Regions from separate parts of the Homo sapiens genome. Here all the other regions are linked to region 5. The links are contacts of gene promoters, found by promoter capture Hi-C in blood cells and fetal thymus (Javierre and others, 2016). All regions are on one chromosome and are shown on one strand. The core of a region is centred on a gene start or on the middle of the fragment in contact, and the rest is flanking DNA. Distances in the headings are between cores, read along the strand shown.

Region 1 (2,700 bases), core at 31-2,530, 260 kb after region 5:
AAATGACAGCCCTACTTCAGTATGCCATGGAAGCACTTTATGTGTACCTTCATTAAAAACATAATACTTTGGGGTTGAGATTTAATAAAATTAATAATTTTTACCGCTTCAAGGACGTTATTACATTGGGGAACACAATAACCACTAATATAGCTTATGCTACTGTCTTGCTTCATGCTGAGATGCCAGCAATGTTATCATTTATTTTTTGTGCCCTATCACTTAAATGTCAACACAGTGAAAAGGGTTGTAAATAACATCTGAGTGTTATGAAAATAGCTTCAATCTCTGAGACTCCTCGAAGTTCCCTTTGGGAACTTCTGCTCTAGGTATGAGGATCAGTGCTCTTAGCAATTTGGTTGGAAAGAAGAGTCTTTGAAGAATGATAACTGTGAGAGAGAAAGTCAAATAGGTAGGTAGAGGCCAGAGAATGTGCTAATGTACTTAACTGACCTTGCTTTTGTTAATGAAACATGAGTGATGCTTATGAGAAAAGGAATGCCCTTTGTAAGGTAGAGTTTAAAGAAAGTATATCTGATATTGGTGGCTAGAATATGTTTGTGGGGTAAAGTGTTAATGTTGCTGAAACACCAGAGGTTTGGTCTAGGACCTGCTGCTTGACGCACAGAAAGCCATTTAATGAGATGAGTATTGCCAAGTAAGAAGGCTTTAATCGGGTGCTGCAGCTGAGGAGATGGGAAATCAGTCTCAAATGCATCTCCCCGACACACTAAACTTAGGGGTTTATATAGTAGGGAAGAAATGTAACCACATGTGGGAAAACAGGAATTAGGGAGGTGTAAGGAAGAGGAGCTGGTCAACAGGAAGCAGGTGGTTGGATAGGCAATCATGATAGGTGAGGGTGAGGGGTCTGGCATCTCATTGTCCATATGCAGCGGTCATGTAAGTTTCAGCTCCTTCATGCTATCTGGGAGGCTTGATGGTTGAGTTCCTGAAAAAGGAACTCAGCTAAGACAAAAGTAACTTTTTCAAGTTTTAAGACTGGGAGGATCAATTTCTATGTTTATTCAAAGAAACCATAAATATCAGCACTGTGGGACAATTGGGTCAGTTTCAAAAGGAGGCAGGTGATTATGAGAGTTTTACAGTAATTTGTTTAGATTATGAGGACTGGACAAGATTAGTAGTTTTAAAAATAGAGTGGAAGTAGAGGAAAGGATGAATCTCTAGAATTTAGTGATTGATTGGATGTGGGTGGAGAGGGAGTGAGTAGAATCAAATATGTCAGATTTTCAAGTTGAAGACTAAGAAAATGTTAGTTTTCAGAAATAGTAGAGATGGGAGGAGGAGCTAATTGTTGGAGAAAGATGATGTGTTTGATTTTAGACATGTCAGTTGAGATGATGTGGGAATAATAGCCAAGGACTGACATCCTCAAGATAGAGTTGTCGTTTTTAGGGAGAAGTCAGAGAGATTCAGACTTTGTCACCTGGACACCAAATTTCTGCACCCTGTCTGGGACTCGTGTATGTCCTTTATTTTAACCAAGATTCAGAGGGGTGATCAGATGAGGATGGGGTGGAAACATGGGTGGCTTAAACAGATTGGGTGTTATTAGAGAACTGCCTTAAAAAACAAAACAAACAAACAAAAACAGTGAAATACTTATAATGGTTTAACCAGTCTTCGTTTTTCCTCATCTTAAATATTAAATTCAACTTAGCCATAGTTCTAGAAAAATGGCTAGATATCTCATTCACCAATGAACTCTCAAATACAGTGATGACACATCCCATTTCTCTCATTTCTAGTTCTCTACAGTAAAGTGAAGGGGCCACTTGTAGAAAGACAAGCATGCTTGAGCACTCACAAACTGATGTTCAGAATCTCTGCCAAGTGAGACACTCAACAGATGTAACCTCAGTGAAATAACTGTGGCCAACAATCTAGCTAAGAGGCTCTAAAACCAGGCATTAAAAGCAGATCCATGGCGGGGCACGGTGGCTCACATCTGTAATCCCAGTATGTTGGGAGGCTTAGGCAGGAGGATCTCTTGAGGCCAGGAGTTCAACACCAGCCTGGGCAACATAGTGAGTCTCTGTTTCTGTTAAAAAAATGTTTAAGGGCTGGCACGGTGGCTCACACCTGTAATCCCCAGTACTTTGGGAGGGTGAGGCAGGAGGATTACTTAAGTCTAGGATTTCAAGACCAGCCTGGGCAACATGGCAAGACCCTGTCTCTGTAAAATTAAAAAATTAGCCAGACATAGTGGCACATGCTGGCGTCAGCTACGTAGGAGGCTGAGGTAGGAGGATTTAACTCAGGAAGTCGAGGCTGTAGTGAGCTGTGTTTGTGCCACTGCACTGCAGCCTGGGCAACAAAGTGAGTCTGTTTCAAAAAAAAAAAAAAATTTTTTTTTTTTAAACATTAGCCAGATATAGTGGCACATACCTGTGGTCCCAGCTACTCAGGATGCTAAGGCCAGAAGATCGCTTGACCCTGGCATTTGAAACTATGATGGTGCCACTACACTCCAGCCTGAGCAACAGAGCAAGACTCTGTCTCAAAAAAAAGATCCATTTCTGACGGATGGACTTATTAATCAACTTCTCGAGAAATACTAAAGCCAAAATAAGAAACACTGGAGCCAAAATAAGAATCTATTAATTTGTTATGAGAATTACCACTCTCCTAGGTGTTAGATTTCTTGGTACTGCATGTTCAGTGCACATTCTCAAT
Region 2 (2,843 bases), core at 59-2,558, 280 kb after region 5:
TCACTTCCAGCCCTAGACTGGAAGCTCCTGAGCCCCAGTGCTGTGTCTGTTTAGGATCTATTGCTTAACAGATTGATGACCCTCACATAGGAAGTTCAGTACACATTAGTGGTCAGAGGCTCCATGATCACAGCTGTTAAGTGTTTTTAACTGCTGTTTAATCTCTAGGCACTTTACTAATTTTTAAAAGTTGGAAATTCCTATGGTAATATGATTCCCAAAGAAAGGTCTCCAGTCCCTTAACTAAAAGATTTAGAATACCTTAGCTAACCTTAGAGTTAAAGCAAAATGTCTGCCCCCTGGTGTCAGATCAACAACTAGCATCTTAGCTAATTCTCATAGTGAGTTCCATTAATTATATGATTTAGTTTTTACAGTAAATTATACATTGCACATAAAATTAAAAATAAGCACCATTTTAAACTTGCCACTCGCTGCTATGAAACTGGGATTTTTGGCTTATATTCAACATTGTTGGTTTTTTTCATGTCTAAATAATAATTTGAAATTAAAGTCTAATTTTAGTAAATTTTCTATATGCTATTAACTCTGTAGCACTGAATTTTATAGAGGAGAGAAATAATGAAGGTTTTATGTGAAACAAAAATAGCCTTAAACATTATTAATATTTTATGAGTTTGTATAAATCTTCATACTGCAGATAGTTTTCCTAATATTTTTGGCCAGAAAGAAGGATAAAAATTCATTTAATAAAAGTCTTTGAATATTTCCATATTTCTATATTGTGTGGGGAAAAAAAGAAAAAAAAAGCATTTGAGTAATGTAAATTTACTGGTTTGGATTAAATGAGAATGAAAGTATTCATGAGAGTCCCTAGAATCAGTTAATCCAAGTCCTGGGTTAAGAAATAAGAAATCAGTAGAGAATTTGTTCTCTGTTTTTGTAGAGAATGAGGTTTATATAGGGGAAAGTAGAGTGGTTGTTGTGTGTGTGTGTGTGTGTGTGTGTGTGTGTGTGTGTTTTCTTACTACATTTAAATTCTTTATTTACCTGAAAGCTGTTTGTGTGCACTGTAGGGAAGGCATCATGACGTGATGGTTCTCTTGCTAGGCCAACTCTAAGATTATATGAGATAAAGCATGTGGAGTATTTCATACAGTGCCTGGGGCAGTAAGGACTCATAAATGTTAGAAGAGGAAGATATTTATTAATAACGTGCAGCATGTACCAGGGATTGTGCTAATGATACGTCCATGAGGTTTATAGCCTCAAGGAGCTGAAATTCTATTGCAGAAGTCAGACAATAATTAAACACAAAATTAGACAAAAATGGTTGTGATTAGTACTCAACATAGAAAAGCACTGTGGTGCAGGGGAGTGAGGGGAGAACTGGATTAGTAATTTGAAGCCAAAAAAAGGGTGAAAGCCTTTTGAGAAACCAAAGATAGATTCCCTGTTGTCCATATACTGGAACACGTTCAATTCACTTATTGAAGACTCTCTGGGCCCTTACTCAAGGCCTGTTTACTCGGATTTATGTACATTTCTAACATGGTTTCATAGTTGACAAGACATTATTTGCAGTGGGTTAGAAGAGAGTGGATGGTGGGAGGACGGATCAGCAGAAAAAATAAGCTGATAGAACCAAGCCCTCTGGTATTAGGGAGTGATAGCCTAGCATTGGGGTGGGGAGGAAGGAGAGGGACCCAGACCAAACCCTAAATGCTGAAAGGACATGTCAGTTAGCAGTGGTAGAGACAAAGGGTTGAAGTGTCTCTTGTTGTAGCAGTTAGCAGTTGTAGCAGAAATTGGAGAATATTCTGCACATTTGGGATAAAAGGGGTATGTAAGTAAAATCATGTTTTGAGCACTTTTTTTAATAAAGCAGAGAAATGATCAATGAGCATCAATGCACATGCCCCTCGGCATTTGTAATGTAAGGTTGCTTTGGCTCCACTAGAAATGTGAGTTCCTTAAAGGCAGCGACTGTATGCCATTCTTACTGTGTATTCTCAGAATTTATGTTAGAATCCAGCCCAAAGTAGTGAGTCGTTCAGTAGATATTCTCTGATCATGTTAGATTAAAGAGGTTTACTTCTCCAGACAGATCTTCATGGAGATATTGGAATTAGATATGCCTGAAATTGGATGTATAGGCAAGCTGTAAGTTCAGCATCCCTTCTTATAATTCTATAACAGAGAAGTGGTTAGGCAACTTCTGTTCTTTTAGTCTCTGTTTACTATAATAAAACTATAAATCTTTCTCCTTTTAAAAAAGTAGCTGTATATGCCATTTATTAACTGGTTTACTGATTTGTTGGTCTGTTTGAGCACACATGTATTGCTCCTTCTGTGTCCTTGGCCCTGGGCTAAAACCTGAGAGTATAGTGTGGTGAAGATTTCTCCCTACCCTCAAACAGTTCTGGTATCTCTGAGTACATTCACTATATTAATAAGTTGAATTGTGTCCGCCCAGAAAGATACATTGAAGAGCTAACCTCTGGTACCTATAAGTCTGACATTATGTAGGAAGAGAGTCATTGCACCTGTAATCAAGTTAAGGTAAGGTCATTAGAGTGGTCCTAATCCAATATTTAGTGGTGTTCTTAGAAGAGGAAATTTGGCTGGGTGCAGTGGCTCATACCTGTAATCCCAGCACTTTTGGAGGCCAAGGTGGGTGGATCACAAGGTCAGGAGTTCGAGACCAGCCTGACCACCGTAATGAAACCCCGTCTCTACTAAAAATACAAAAAAATTAGCCAGGTGTGGTGGCGCGTGCCTGTAATCCCAGCTACTCGGAAGGCTGAGGCAGGATAATTGCTTGAACTTGGGGGGCGGAGGTTGCAGTGAGCCGAGATCGCGCCACTGCACTCCAACCTGGG
Region 3 (2,701 bases), core at 87-2,586, 300 kb after region 5:
GCTACTCAGGAGGCTGAGGCAGGAGAATGGCGTGAACTCGGGAGGCAGAGCTTGCAGTGAGCCGAGATCACACCACTGCACTCCAGCCTGGGCGACAGAGCGAGACCCCGTCTCAAAAAAAAAAAAAAAAAACCCGAAAAAAAATTTCTGTTTTTGATGAACTTCTTTTATTATATAACTTTGTAAATTTTTTGACCAGTAATTTAAATATCTTAACCCCATGGGTCTATTCTCTTGTGTTATTTATTGACTGAAATATATTTATATGTTTTATATAGCCTGCCTCAAATTCTTTTTTTAATGTAGGTAGAGGTACTCCTCTTATTACTGAGAGGAGTAATAAGAAAGAAGCTTTTACTCTGATCCCTTTAAGTATGTTTTCACAACATAATCTCAGAAAAACGTTTTTCTCTGTACTCCTCCTCCCCATCCATAGTCTAAAATCCTTTTTTACATCAAATATTAAAGCTTGTCCATTAACCACTCTGACAGGCTGAACAATTTACCTCCGTTCTACTGATTTTTTTAAGGGCACTTAACCTTTAAAATACACTTAACGAATAGGATGGCTCCCAAATAAAAATACACCAAGATTTTTCTGCAGCCAAATGATAAGCATTTTCCTAACCTCGATCAAGTTATTTAACATTGCTGAAATCTGTTTCTTTAGTAAAATGGGAATAATATCTGCTCTGCATCTGTGGCAAGATTTTGTGGGATCAAGTGAGATTGGATTAATTATAGCTCTTTGGAAGTCCTGTAGTGCTCTGGAAGTGCATGCTATAGTTCTTATATCAGAAATAAAATGTATATGGTTTATGCATATGTATAATATAATATTCATTCTAATCTATGAGAGTGTAGTATAATAATGTTCCCACACACAGATTTGGATTTTACAAAACATGACGCCCACTTCAGCTTGTAATTGTAATATGCTGATAAAAGGCCAAATTGTCATTGAATACTGTGTCAATTGCCCAAATTCTCCATAATGATCTTTTGTTGAAGTATCTAACTTAAGTGGGAAATCAAGTCCTGGCATGCCACCATTTAGAAGAATAATGACGTTGGAGTTGATCAAGGCCACTTCTAAATAGCTTCCATTTTGTGATCGTTGCTGTTGTATACTAGCCAGAGGACTGCAGCTCTGAGAGAAAAGCATATTGAAGATCCTGCCAAAATAACAGAAAAGAAAATTGTCTCCATTTAATATATTTTCAAACCTGCCTACCTTGAAAGAGTGTGATGCCACTAGTAATTCTATTCTGTTTAATTGTATGGAAGCCAAAGAAAGATTCATGCCCCTGGTTGTATTTTGTCTTCTCTTCTCCTGCTGCTCACTCTGAAATAAGAATAAAATTAAGTTGAAAGATTAGGTTGACAGAGGATGTGGCAGCGGGGCACATTCTCTGAATGATGTTGTGCAGTTACACTTAGCTTAATGTCCATATAATCATAGATCTTTCTGGAATACTGTGGTTAGGACGAGTGACTAGGTAGTCTTCCTGCCAAACCTAAATAAATCCTGCCTGGTATTGAACAGGTTGTATTGCTGTCACTCATTAGGTGGGTGGGATAGGCAGACAGCTGGAGGAGAAAGTAATAAAGCCTGCCTAGCTATTTTATCTAAATATGATGTGATCTCTACTTTTTAAAATTATAAAAAATTAAGGCTGAGTGCAGCGGCTCACGCCTGTAATCCCAACACTTTGGAAGGCCGAGGCGGGAGGATCACTTGAGGTCAGGAGTTCAAGACCAGCCTGGCCAGCATAATGAGACCCCATCTCTACAAAAAATTTAAAAATCAGCTGGGCATGGTGGCGGGCAACTGTAGTCCCAGCTACTCAGGGGGTTGAGACAGGAGAATCGCTTGAGCCCAGGAGGTCAAGGCTGCAGTGAGTTGTGATCATGCCACTGCACTCCAGCCTGGGTGACAAAGCAAGGCCCTGTCTCAAAAAAGGAAGAAAGGGAGAGAGATAGAAGATTATCAAAAATTGCTGATTTCAAGACCATTCTCACCTACACCCATTCTCCTTTCATTATTATGCTTAGGCTTTTGGATTTTTAAGGGTTGTGATCTCAATGCAGTTTTTTTCCCAGTACTTCTCAAGAAAACAAAATTGAGATTACCATAATTGTCTCTAGTTTTCTTAAAGTAAAATACAAATCTTCACTCAGATTTTAAGTTTTTATTAAGCTTTTTTGGAAGGAGCACCCTTAAGCCTGAGGTTCTCAGTAGTGCTATGTTGTATACTATGTGCACACTCTAAAAGGAAATAGTGTTCTTAGGTTATACTTCATCTCAAGACTTTAATATCACTAGTTAGAAAATACGTGTTTTATTCTGTGTGGAGGTATTTAGAATTAGACATTCCAGTGATAAAATATTAAAATATTTTACTACATCTAAAATATTCTATAACCAGGTCATATGATTAACCTTAATTATATATAAGTTTATGGATGGATGGACCGATGGATGGTTGAATATTTACAAATACAGAGTTTCCTTCTAGGTAATTTTTAGCTGCTTACATTTCATGCCTTTTAGTTTTAAGTTTGTATGCAGAGTCCTCCTGACTATGTTGTGTTTGGTTTTGGTTAATAGTCTATGAACGGAGATGTATACTTTTATCTTCTACCAACCTCTGATCATATCCTATCTGCATACTTTTATGAGAATATGAGGTGGAGGCCG
Region 4 (2,795 bases), core at 170-2,669, 320 kb after region 5:
TTTGCCTACTCTTTCCCCTCTCTGTGCCTGCATCGTACCCCTTGCTAACTACTGCCCAGGGCCCCTCCCAGGCTCAGAAGGGCACACCCTTGGCACCTCCTGCCCTGGAGTTCAGTGTTCCCCCCCAACAGCCCCGCTGCTCGGCCTCCTCACTGCTCTTAAAAATCTGTTGTGGTTTTCAGGGTATTTTCCTAGACATCATTTCATCTGATCTTCTCAGGAGTCTCCTGAGGCAGAAAAGTCAGCTGGTATGTTCTCCATTTAAGGAAAGAGGTAACTGAGACTCAATGAGTTAAGTGTCCCTCAGCTGGGGTTAGGGTGGGATGTATCCAGTTCCCTGACTCCAGACCCCAGGACTCTAGAGCCCGAGGACTCTGAGAATCTCCACCTTCTATCAGTTCCATTCCTCTCTTCTGCTGCTCACTGTACCATTTGTATTGACAAAGGCTTATCCCTCCGTGGAAGCTGGTTAAAGGTGCATATTTTTAGAAGTTTCAGAGACAGGGACTCATATCCAGCACTCTCAGAAAGCAACAGGGCAAAAGTCTTCAGGCTGACCTTTCAGTTGTTCCCATAATACACGTGTTTCTCCCCCTACATAAGGTCCTCCGTTAAGTCAAAGAACCAAGCAGATTTAAAAGGAAATAAATAAGTCATAGAGGCAAAGAGTTGAGCAGATAGAAGAGGAATAGGAGAACTGGGGAAAAGACTTAGCCTGCCACATACGCTGATGTGCAGACCCTGTCACCAATATTAAACCAGAGGCACTAAGAGAAATCAAATATTTACAGTCCAGCCTAATGCCTTAACTCTTTACTCCCCATAAAACCCTTATGTGGTCAGGTGCTGCAGCTCACGCCTGTAATCCCAGCTCTTTGGGAGGCCTAGGCAGGAGAATCACTTGAGACCAGGAGTTGAGGAGCAGCCTGGACAACATAGCAAGACCCCATCTCTACAAAAAAAAAAAGATTTTAAATTAGCCAGGTGTGGTGGTATGTGCCTGTAGCCCAAGCTACTTAGGAGGCTGAGGCAGGAAGATCACTTGAACCCAGAAATTTGAGGCTGCAGGTGAGCTATGATCACACCATAGCACTCCAGCCTGGATAACAGGGTAAAACCCTGTCTCTTAAAACAAACAAACAAACAAAAAACACACCAAAATCCTTATGTATCTGGTACTATAGTTGTCTTTCTCATTTTACATTTGACACTGAGAGACAGAGAGGTTGAGGAGTTTGGGCAAGACACACAGCTAATACATGGTAGAGTCAAGCTTGAGTTCAGGTCTCCTGGCCCCTATTTCCACCCCGAACTTCACAATATCATATGTCTGGGAGGCTTGGAGACTCTTGAATCCCTTTAACTCACCCTAAGGGAGGCTATGTCACATATGGAGCCTTCTAGAAAATGACCTTTCTTAATATCATTGTCTCAGGTGCTAATGACAGTTGAAGAGAAATGATTATTTTTCTAACACCATTTCTTTGGTTCCTAAATAGAATCTATTTCAACCAATTTCAAAGCATGAGAAGAGAGCAAAATCTTAAGGGACAGAAGAAGCTTGTAATATGTTGTGTTAGAAATGCATATTTTATTCAGCTTTTTTCTGAGCTGGCTTCAAAAAAAAAAAAAGAATCAAATAACTAAGTGCTAAATCTGTTGACTAGGCTTCACAAAAGTTTAGAACTGAAGGCTTCCTTACAGTTTGAAAATTTTACATTTCACATTCCAAAGTTCACTTGGGAGGTGTTAAGCGCAGTGGATAATGTTTCCGCTGCATATGCCAGCAGTATTTTTGAAAGTTTATAAACTGGCCAGGAAGCATTTGCTGCTGAAATTTAGCACGTGGTGCTCCTCCCCGCCCAAACCATTTATTTGTTCCAAATTACCTTGCAGACTGCTTGGATATTGAATTTTAGAGAGAACGGAGAGCCACACAAAATATTTTTATGAATATCCATTGGCTTGTGGCCAAGTCTTCCCATCTTTTCAAATGAAGGTGTTTTGGTCTTCCTACAGAAGAAAGTATGGAGAAGGCGGGTCTGAAGCTCGAGAAAATGAATTGTTGCTCAAACTGTGGTTTCCTCTTGGTCCTAAATCAGCCTGTTCTTATGAAGTGCTCACAGCCTCACGGGCGTCATGAGAGCCTAACCCCCCCAGGAGGGTGCCCAGTGGAATACCTTAAGCCTGTGTATTCTCATATACATGTAGAAATAAGATGACAACATAAAAGGGCCGTTCTGCCGTCATTTTTCTGAACTTCTTCACTCAGTCAAGTAATCATGACATTGAGTGCTGGAAGGAATCTTGGAGCAGGGCCTGTTGAATGTGCAGGCCGTATTTCTCAGCCAGTGAGCCGAGGAATGGTGCCAGGAGAACCTCTGGGGATCACAGAATGGGATGGGGCCTGGGAACCTTTGCATAAGCTCTCCAAGTGATTTACGCTGAGTAAGTAGGACAGCAGGTCCTCTAATGACTATAGCCTCCCTATTTTTATTTGCATGTCCCTTCCTCAAAAATTATTTGGCCTCACCCCATTGTCTCCCCAGAGCTACTGCTCTTACCCCATTGCTTTGAAAGCCCTGTATTCTATCATGTCCCATTGTAGTGTTGTTACCTGTGGTATGTCACTTTCCCACTAGGAAGCTCCTTGGTGGCCGGGACCTGTTCTCCTCATCCTGTGCACAGGGCCCAGTACATGACGACATTCATTAACTATTTGCTGAATGAAAAAATAAATCAGCTGCATAGCCAAGGAAGCTGTTAGTTGATCTGTTGCAATGACAAAGCCAGCC
Region 5 (2,707 bases), core at 118-2,617:
TCAAGAGGCTAAAAACCAAGTGTGCAAGTGGTGGGAGTGGAGAAGAGAGAAGAACCCCTTAAGACCATCAGAAACCCAAGTAATGGAGGCGGAGAATTAGCGAACCTAATTGTTTCCCTGCGATTTAGGTCAGCCCTTCCCCCTCCATTCTACAGCTAGGTGGGAGTCTGAGAAGCAAACAATGAGTTGACAGGTTATAGCCCTTAAAGGGAAACCAGCAGCCATTCCCCGGAACCGGAGGCTCGAAAAAGCCCAAGTTCGAGGGAACTCATGAGTAGGATGAATGATTTCCCTGGATAACGGGATAGATGGAACTGAGATACTGCCTCTCTTCCAAATTTAAGGCAATTGTGGACGGATGGGCAAGAAGGCGACAGGCACCGCTGGAACAGGAGCCCAGGGAGTAGGTACCACGAAAATGCAGGCTCCTCCCTTCCTTGTAGGCGCGCCCCGCATCACCTACAGGGGAGGGGGCGGGGCGGGGAGCCCCCGAGGACTCAAGCTGGGGAGCGGCGTGCACTGCCGGCGGCCGGCGCATCCTGGGCCCCACGCCCTACCTGGGCCGTGAGGGGAAACAGCAGCAGCAGCGCGCAGGCAGGCGCTGGCACCGAGCCCAGAGACTCCTCTTCCAGCCCCAGCACGTCCACGAAGCGCCACTGGCCGGCGACCCCCAGCCGGGACAGCACCTGCGGAGAGGAGACAAGGCGGCCAGGCGCACGGGGACACGCGGGTCGCGGGCACCTGCCAGGGGGCGGGGCCAGGAGGCGCGCGCCCTCCGCGCCCGCACCCGAGCCTGGGAGGAGCCCCAGTCCCGCCCTGCCACCCCCACCCGGGCCGGCGCAATGACACAGCACAAAGCGCGGCCCACACGTGGCGCCCGCGAAGCCCGTGCAGCCGAGTCTGTGCTGCCCGCGCCACGCCCTCGGGAGCTCCGCCTGGCGCTCGCTCGCCACGGGGCGCAGCCCCCTCCGTCTCCCCGTGACCGGTTTCGTAGAGTCACCCGCTAAATGCAGGGGCCCAGGAAAGGCGCCCAGCCCACGCCCCAGCCCGGCCGTCTCCGGTGCTCGCAGCGGGCGGCTTGGTCCCTGCCAGCAGCCGGAACCGGTGGGCGCCCCCGCCTCGGCGCTCGCGGGGGAGGGGGCCAGAGACGGCGCGAGACGCCACTCACTTTGTTCAGCATCTGAAAGGCAAATGCAAAGAAAAAGGCAAAACCGAACCGATCAGCGACTCGGCTCCCCCTCCCTCGGCCTCGCGCTCTCCGGGTAGCGGTGCACCTGGCGCTCACCTCGGGGTTGATCTCCATCGGCTTGAGCTGCATCTTCGCGGAGCGCCCGGCAGAAATAGCCTAGGGAAGACGAAAAACAGCTAGCGGAGCCGCCCAGGCTGCAGCTATAAAGCGCCGGCCAGACGCACTGTGAGGCCTGTGCAGGGGGAGCAGGGGCAGAACCAAGCGAGGGGGAAACGGACGGTCGCGGCCAGATGGGTACGAACCCCCCGTGCGCAGCGCGGAGTGGTACGGCCGGGCCCCCAAACCTTGCAGTCTCACTCGCCGGTGAGATAATCTGGTGGTTGTGGAGACGGGATTTGTTGGTGGGTGTTCCTTGAGTGTATGGAGCAGTCCTTTTGATGGAGTCTTTAATTTTGGGCGAAGTTTCTGGAAACCCATCCTTTCACCATCCCAATTACTCTAAAGCTCGAGTCTCTGAAGCATTTGAGAAAAAGCACAAATTCAACAGGTATATATTTAATACGAATGAATGTAAATGTGTGCCCCCCGCCCCAAATCTCTCAGCAGTTTGCGTTTAACCTTAGACAATTCCTCCTCCATGTTAAGTCAGACCAGTACCGAGGTTCGTTTTTAAGTGACTACCTAGAATAAAACAGAATCTGGTAGATAACAGATACTGCATTAGGAATGCTGATGTAATGTGACTCCCGCGGAAGAAATGGTTGGTCCTGGGAGAGCAGTAGAAAGCTGGGGGATGTGAGGGTAATACAAGACACAAAGAAGGCAGGCGATTGGAGACTTGAGAAAACAGATCCAGGGAAAAGATGGGTATGATTTTGAGCGAGAGGCTGTAAAAGGAAAAGCATTTTTAAAAGAATGGGAAGCTTTGAAAAATAAAATGTCTGAGTTCACCGCAGAATACTCCCAATGAAGAAGAAAGGGAATGGCAACCAAGGAAACCACTGTTCTCTAATGATCTCAGGTGATCTCTAATGATCTCTAGTCAAAAGATGGAGAGAGAAAGCATTTGCTGAAGAATGAATTTTAAAAGGGACCAAAATCTATAAGAATTGTGCCAGGAAAGCTAAGCTGCAGAACAAAGTGGGCTTGCAGAAATACTTAGGTAGCGAAGGAAGCAAGAAGGTTGAGTATTTTTTAAAAATAGGCACCGAAGAGAATAATGATGATGGTAAAAGAATAGACCTTCTATTTAGGAAGTTGAGGTTAACAGATGACAGAGGGAAGGGAGGGAATCAACATTTTTTGAGTTATTGTTTTTGGGGATCCTTTGCATGTGTCTCTCATTTAATCCTTAGAGGAGCCGTGAAGAGACTCATATTAGTGCAATTTTACAGATCAGAATCCCAGGCCTAGAGAAGTTAATTTGCTTACGGTCACAATTGAAAAGTAAAACTGAGAAGTAAACCCTGCTAAACTGGGCTCCAAGAGCCCATTCTTTATCTAAGATTCCACAACATT

What was found. Contacts are between HindIII fragments. The CHiCAGO score rates a contact against its expected background, and 5 or more counts as called.
Region 1: a contact is called between a fragment that was not itself captured here and the fragment with the promoter of UCHL1 in region 5, in 1 of 17 cell types (M0 macrophages). The highest score is 6.0, in M0 macrophages.
Region 2: a fragment that was not itself captured here is called in contact with the fragment with the promoter of UCHL1 in region 5 in 1 of 17 cell types (M2 macrophages); the score reaches 5.1 in M2 macrophages.
Region 3: a fragment that was not itself captured here is called in contact with the fragment with the promoter of UCHL1 in region 5 in 3 of 17 cell types (M0 macrophages, M2 macrophages and M1 macrophages); the score reaches 6.5 in M0 macrophages.
Region 4: a contact is called between a fragment that was not itself captured here and the fragment with the promoter of UCHL1 in region 5, in 2 of 17 cell types (M0 macrophages and M1 macrophages). The highest score is 7.3, in M0 macrophages.

What each region holds. Positions count from the first base shown.
Region 1 is chr4:40,995,220-40,997,919 of GRCh38, reverse strand. All of the region lies in intron 6 of APBB2 (amyloid beta precursor protein binding family B member 2), which reads left to right. Among named protein-coding and RNA genes, the nearest start is that of APBB2, 220 kb to the left of the region's middle. The HindIII fragment of the contact is 2,969 bases long and covers 1-2,700 here.
Region 2 is chr4:40,973,892-40,976,734 of GRCh38, reverse strand. The region is part of intron 6 of APBB2 (amyloid beta precursor protein binding family B member 2); the gene reads left to right. Among named protein-coding and RNA genes, the nearest start is that of NSUN7, 230 kb to the right of the region's middle. The HindIII fragment of the contact is 5,502 bases long and covers 1-2,843 here.
Region 3 is chr4:40,957,879-40,960,579 of GRCh38, reverse strand. The region is part of intron 6 of APBB2 (amyloid beta precursor protein binding family B member 2); the gene reads left to right. Among named protein-coding and RNA genes, the nearest start is that of NSUN7, 210 kb to the right of the region's middle. The HindIII fragment of the contact is 1,732 bases long and covers 471-2,202 here.
Region 4 is chr4:40,939,979-40,942,773 of GRCh38, reverse strand. All of the region lies in intron 7 of APBB2 (amyloid beta precursor protein binding family B member 2), which reads left to right. Among named protein-coding and RNA genes, the nearest start is that of NSUN7, 190 kb to the right of the region's middle. The HindIII fragment of the contact is 287 bases long and covers 1,276-1,562 here.
Region 5 is chr4:41,255,588-41,258,294 of GRCh38, reverse strand. UCHL1 (ubiquitin C-terminal hydrolase L1) reads right to left here and starts at 1,367. Exons shown (of 9, transcript NM_004181.5): 1 at 1,286-1,367; 2 at 1,169-1,180; 3 at 558-686. The coding sequence starts at 1,318. It overlaps UCHL1-DT (UCHL1 divergent transcript), which reads left to right and starts at 1,568. Exons shown (of 3, transcript NR_102709.1): 1 at 1,568-1,736. RefSeq lists an enhancer at 157-657 and a silencer at 492-1,251. The HindIII fragment of the contact is 2,127 bases long and covers 1-2,114 here.